Regions from separate parts of the Homo sapiens genome. Here region 2 is linked to region 1. The links are contacts of gene promoters, found by promoter capture Hi-C in blood cells and fetal thymus (Javierre and others, 2016). All regions are on one chromosome and are shown on one strand. The core of a region is centred on a gene start or on the middle of the fragment in contact, and the rest is flanking DNA. Distances in the headings are between cores, read along the strand shown. Region 1 holds the start of RNF152 (ring finger protein 152). Region 2 has its middle 35 kb from the start of LINC01544.

Region 1 (3,298 bases), core at 263-2,762:
CGCCGGGGAGGGCGGTGCCGCGGGGAGCGGAGCCCAGCCTCTCCCCCCACCCCCTTTGGTGCCGGAGTCTCAGTGACACAAAAAGCTCTCGCTCGGTGCCGAGCGCCTGGCGGCGGTGTCCGACCGCGAACGCGGAGGGCGGCCGGGCAGGTGGGGGTGCCGCCCGAAGGGCCGGGCCGGGTGCTGGGGCTGCAGGCGCCGCCGCCGCGCTGTCAGCGTCCGCCCCGTGGCTCTCGGCCGGAGGAGCGGCGGCCGCCGGCCCGGGGCGCGAGTCTGGCTGAAAGGAGCGGGCGCGCCGGGACCACCCGGCGATGCTGTCGCCGCCGCCGCCGCCTCTGTAGCGAGCACCCGAGCCCGCCGCGGAGAAAGGTCAGTGAGTTTCGGTTTGTTTCTCTGCTCTGCCGGCTCCGGATCGGGGGCGGACAGAGGGGTGCGCAGGGATGTCTGCGCCCCTACGGCGGCCGCGCCGAAGCCGTGGAAGCGGGAAAGGGCAGCTGCCGCCTGCTGTAACTGGGGAGATCTTCTGGACCGCGGAGGGGGTGGCGGGGCCGCAGGGTCCCGGGGAGGGGAGCGCGGGGTCTGGCGGGGCACGGGGGAGGTGGTCCCGGGAGTTGCGTGTCTCCTGAGAGCTGGCGGAGTTGGGCGGGCGGCCGCGGCGGGGAGCGGCGCTGTCGGCTGCTCGGCCGAGTCCTCGGATGCCCCCTGGAGCTCCGGTCCGAGGGAGCTTTCCTCGTGCCCGCGCCGCGCGCGCCCCTGGGTGTGCACGTGCGCGCGCGCCCGCCCCAGTTGCGCCCCCGGCCCGCACACACCCCGGCTCATCTTCTCCCGGTCCCCTTGTCTCGCGCCTTCTCCAGCCCTAGAAGTTGCCCCAGGGCCCCTCCCGGGATTAGAGAGCGCTGTGAAGGGCCAGATGTTGGGGGTCTTTTGTGCAGACACACGCGCCTGGGGCGCTTGCTCCTGGAAGGACAGCGGCAGGACAAAGCCAGCTGGACTCGTGGGGCGCTGCTCGGGAAGCGGCGGTCCCCAATCCCGCCTGGGGTCGGGGCATGGCTTGGGGAGCGCTGCCTGGGTCTGGAGAGAGTAGAGAAATCGCCAAAGCAGAGTGACGGTGACTTGATGAGGTGACGGTGACTTGATGAGGTGGCGGTGACTTGATGAGGTGGCGGACAGGGGCAAACGAAAGAAAGATGCTCGGGATTGCCGCGCTGTGTGCCTGTCTGCGCGGCTGACTAGGCGCCCCGCATTCCCATATGACCGGGTTACCTGGTAGATTTTGCCAGTGTGTCTTTGCCCCAAGATGTTATTCCCCACCTGCTCCGATTTCTTTCTTTCCTAGGGCTTACTGTTGCTAGTAGGCGCTCTGCCACCAGAGGGGAACTCGTGGGCGGGGGAGACTGCGGAGGAGGGGGGAGGTGGTTATTTATCCTGTAGAGACAATTAGGAGCCGTGACGCCCCCTTCTCGGCCGCCAGCCCTCCACACCTCATCTGCCTTGCTCCACCTCCCTAGTGCACCCGCTCCAGCCCCGTCTGCCCAGGAGGGCGCTTGGATTTCCTTCTCCGCGGCGCGTATCTAACCCTTCCTGCATGTATTTCACTGCAGGCTGAAGAAAGCTCAGTCTCAATTGTGTTTCCTGCCTGTCAGCCTCTTGCCTCCTAAACGTGTACCATTTCCACTTGATGTCATCACGCAGAAGGGGTGAAAGAGACTCGGTGACAGATACAGGTAACCCCCCACGATCTGGGTAGCGCCTGGGTGTCTCTGGGTCATTTGGGCCGACAGTGCTGGCACAGGGCTGTTTGGGTGGTTTCTGCATCAACATCGTTCCTATCTGTGAGAAGGTGTGGGGGCTGCTAAAACTCCTGGTTCAAAGAAATAAATTGCAAATGACTTTATACCTTCCCTTTGAAGAAGCCATTGGAGGTAGGTGCAGGGTGAATTTGGGATTGTAGAAATCCCACCTGGTTTCCTTTCATGGGAATTTTGATATAATTCATACACAGGCAGTTGTATCTGAATGTTAGGTTTCCATAGATGCCTGCTTTCTTATCTGTAGTAATAGATTTAGGCTTCAGTCTAGAGGTGGGGTATCCTTTGTTGAAAAGGTATCATTGGAAGGCTGATTGTACTTTTGCCCAGTGCTCTAATTGAGCACCGGTCAAATGCAGTGACCTTCGTATGAAATACTGTCTTTCTTCTGTTCCTTCATTGTAATAGTGTTTGCAATATTAAGAGAGACATGCTAGCAGTGAGTACTGGGAGGTGGAAGGGAGGGCTGTTGGGGGCAGCAGAAAGAGAACAGAGAAAACAGCTTGAGTGAAGTTTCCATTTAGATAGCCATGAACCAGTAGACTCTCATTCTGGATTTTATCTTTAGGTTATTGGGGCTTTTCCAAAAACTCTGGCCTGTTCTTTTCTTTCCAAGGATAGTTCTGTTTTGATGTCAGCCTAGCCAGATCTGGGGTTATCTTGATAAGAGTGCAATGAAAAAACGTAACCTTCAGACTTAGCAGGACACTCCGGCATTAGCATTTTCTGCTAGAGGGCAGAGTCCTGCGCATCCTACACTAGTAGCAGGGAATAAGAATGGTTATGGAAATGGGCTTTCGATTTTTCTTGTAGGAAGACAGATTGCTGAGGGCCAAAGGCTCCTGGTCTACTCTCTTTTACATTGCAGTAACACCTTGGTATCTGTGACAGATTCTCTCTTCACCATTTTCCTCCAAATCCCTTGAAAAATGAAGTTAAAAACTTGAAAGATTTATTATTCACCTCCAATGTAGTTTTGTTTTGGAAGGTGACTTTAAAAACATAGGTGACACTAGCATTTATCCTTCTACTACAAGCATTCAGGAGTCACTAGTAAAAGCAGTTGAGTTATCTAGTCCCAGGTGAAACAAAGGCCAGTGCTTTGCAAAGATCAGATGAGTAATGTGGTGCTAAGATAGAGGTATTTTTGACAAGTAATTTTTATGTCAGCAATAGTACAGGGTGTGTACTGTGTTGCTGCAAGAAGAAAAAACATGTGATGGGATAATAGGGAATGTAATAATGCAATAGAAACAAGGGTGTGGTTTTTTTTTTAATAGAAAGAATAAACACTTCGCACACAAAATTCCACATGGCAAAACAGTAGCCTGCCCATGTAAATGCACGTCCAAGAACAAAGATAGCCACAGTGCAGTGTTAGGTTTCATTGTGGTTTTAAATTGTGTACAGTAATAAATCATAATAAAGTGTCCATTGATGCTTAATTTTTTTTATATAAGAAGGAGGCTCCCCACCCTCAGATGTGTTTA
Region 2 (3,298 bases), core at 399-2,898, 180 kb after region 1:
GTAAGGCTACCTGTCTAACCTGAGAAGTTTCCTCAGTTAGGAGGGTAAGGGCATGGTGTGTATTACTGAAGGGCACGGCTGTGTGCTTGGCCGTCTTCAACTTGTAACTCCGTACTGACTGTAGCTGCCTGTGGGAAAAATATAGCCATTGGATAGAACCACTAAGATGCCCACTTTTGTCGCTTATGGCAAGCTTTTACAATTTCCCAGTTAGATGACAGAGAGTGCAATTTGGTGAGGTTGTGTCCTGGGAGATAAGGACAACCCCACGAACACCTTCCAGTTCAGTTATAAGGTAAGTATGGCCAGCCATGAGTTCTACAAGCCCATAACCATCCCGAAGCAGAAGGGTAGGCACTCATTTTTGGCAAATTATTTTGCCATCCCATCCAAATCTGGTCTGTTAGAAGAAGGGTCTGATTACGTTGTTGAAATGACAGCCATCTCGTATCCTGGGTTTCAGTCTGGTGGTGACTATTGTTGTGCCTTTCGAAACCTGGAGGTGCCTTGCCCGACACCTGCCCTTGAACAGTTGTTATTCACCCAAGTTCATTATGTAAAGCATAACCTAAAGCTGGGGTGGAGTTTAGCTGTTTTTGATTAGATTTAAAAAGTGCCTTCTTGTCTCTTTATAGGAGGGAAAGGGGCTAAGGCTTGTGTGGCTATGATACATGGAAAAAGAGGAGCTGTGTTTATAATGTTCAGTTTCCCAATCATAATAAAATTCCTATAAACTTGGGTTGGCCAGTTGAATATGCCAGAACAACCTGGAAGTGGAGGAAAGTGGCAATTCTCCACATACCCAACAGTTCATGTGATTATGTAGAGAGGCTAAAGTCTGTGCCCACTTGGTAAATAAGTTACTATCTGCATGATTCCAACTTATACCCAAAAGTAGAATGCCAATCCATATCTTTATGTTACCCATCCCTTTTATTTCTTCTGAACAGCAGTCAGAGGTCACTGGTTGGCTCACAGGAATCAGTCTCTTGTGTTCTGTCGGCCTGTGAGATTTCATAAGAGACAGGTTTAATTCGAGATAAGTGGACCCAGATGTTTATTCCCAGAAGTTTAACTGCAGTTGGGGTACTAAGAAGAATTTGAATAGGGTTCCTTCCATTTTGGGGAAGTTGATCTGCTGGGGATCCTTCCTTCCAAGTGTTTAATGGGACCCAGTTTCCAGGCTGGGTTATAACAAAATTCTCTTCCTTAGTGGGGGAAGGAAGTCTTTGATTTCCATATTCAAGGAGTGCATTTTGCACTTGTCCTAAGTTGATCACATAATTTGTAGCTTGAAAGTATCTATATCTATTAGGAGGTCTGTAGTTAAGAAAGGCCTTCCATAGAAAAGGGCTGAGCTGGAACCCTTAGGGGGCCACTGGAACCCATAATAAGGCTACAAGTAATACATACAGCCAGGTTTCTGATGCCTCTTGGCATAATTTAGCAAGAGTCCTTTTTAGAGTTTGATTAGCTCTTTCTACTTTCCCTGAAAACTGGCCTCCACGCCGAGTGAAGGCAGTACTGAATTCCTAAGGCAAAAGATATGTTTTGGGTAATTGTCGCTGTGAAAAATGGGCCATTATTACTCTGCAAAGTCTTAGGCAGCCCAAATCTAGGAATTATTTCCTTTCGTAGAAGTTTAGCAACCTCAATTGCCTTTTCAGACTGAGTAGAAAAAGCCTCAATCCAACTAGTAAAGGTGTCAATGAATACTAATAAATATTAAAACACTTTACATGGGGGCATTTGAGTATAGTCTATTTGCCAATCTTCACCAGGGTACGTTCCCCTATGCTGAACAGGCCTTACTAGAGGAGGAGGTAAAGATTGGTTATCTGGTTTATTCCAGGTACATAATTCACAGGCCCGAGTTACCTGCTTTACTGTTTTAAGAAAGCCTTTTCCTATAAAAAGCTGCAACATTAATTGAAACAGGGAATCTCTTCCCAAATGAGTAGAGTTATGCAAATGCTTAACTATTTTCCACTGATTAGCATCTGGTATTAACAGTTTGTTGTCATTGATAAGCCAGTCAGAAGGATTTTGAATTAAACCATAACCTTTAGCCCTTTCTTTTTCCTCTTTAGTATACCTAGGTTCTGTCATTACCGTGTGTGAGGGCACTAACATACCTACAAGTCCAGCGGGCTCCTTTAACGCTGTTGCCTTAGCAGCTGCATCTGCAAAGGCGTTTCCCTTAGCCACACTAGAGTCTCCTCTTTGATGTCCTCTGCAATGGATTACAGCTACTTCCTTGGGCAGCAAAACAGCATCTAATAGATTTAGAATTTCTACGTGACGTTTTATTGGGGGAACCCTTAGCAGTTAGGAGTCTCCGTTCCTTCCAGATAGCAGCATGAGAATGAAGTTCCAGAAAAGCATACTTAGAATCAGTGTAAATGCTAATTCTTCAGTCCTTTTCCAATTGCAGGGCTCTAATAAAAACCACTAATTCCAAATTTTGAGCTGAGGTAGAAGCTGGTAGGCCTGAGATTCAATTACCTTGTCTTGACTGACAACAGCATACCCAGCTTTCCCATTTCCCTGGTGCACAAAGCTACTTCCGTCTGTAAACCATTCTACTCAGGATTTTCTAGAGGTTCATCCTTTAAATCTGGATGGCTGGAGTAACTTGTGTACAAGAATAATCTAGGGCACCTGTGGGTGCAGGCAAGTAGGTAGCTGGATTCAATGTCCAGCATACTTTAAGTGTTATATCAGGAGTGTCTAGTAATAAAGCCTGATATTTCAATAAGTGTCCCCCTGTCATTCACTGGTGTCCTTTAGCTTCTAGGATTCCTTGTACTTGGTGTGGGTTTAAAACCTTCAGACTGGTCCTAAAGTCAGTTTATTGGCTTTATCTACCAAGAGAGCAGTTGCAGCAACTGCCCTGAGGCATCCAGGCCATCCCAAAGCGACATGGTCTAATTGCTTAGAAAAATATGCCACTGGTTGGGGAATATCTCCCAACTTCTATACAAGGACACCTAGGGGTGTTCCCTGTTTTTCAGTCATATAGAGGAAAAATGGCTTATTAAGATTAGGGATTCCTAGGGCTGGAGCTGATCCCAATTTCTCTTTGAGGGCATTAAAAGCTTGTTTACAGTTACTATCCCATTCAAAAAGATATACATCTGCTCCTTTCAGAGCCTAATATAAAGGCTTAGCTATATGCCCAAATCCAGGCACCCAAAAATCACAGAAGCCTGCCATCCCTAGGAAAGCCCACAGCTGCTTTCTAGTTTGGGGTTCTGGAATGCCCAAGATAGCTTCCCTTCATTCTGGCGTGATTGCC

What was found. The method cuts DNA at HindIII sites, captures the fragments that hold promoters and counts their contacts. A CHiCAGO score of 5 or more calls a contact.
Region 2: a contact is called between a fragment that was not itself captured here and the fragment with the promoter of RNF152 in region 1, in 1 of 17 cell types (M0 macrophages). The highest score is 5.7, in M0 macrophages.

The regions. Positions count from the first base shown.
Region 1 is chr18:61,891,221-61,894,518 of GRCh38, reverse strand. RNF152 (ring finger protein 152) reads left to right here and starts at 1,512. Exons shown (of 2, transcript NM_173557.3): 1 at 1,512-1,724. RefSeq lists silencers at 1-106, 177-326. The HindIII fragment of the contact is 8,244 bases long and covers 1-3,298 here.
Region 2 is chr18:61,711,183-61,714,480 of GRCh38, reverse strand. No RefSeq gene overlaps it. Among named protein-coding and RNA genes, the nearest start is that of LINC01544, 35 kb to the left of the region's middle. The HindIII fragment of the contact is 2,905 bases long and covers 196-3,100 here.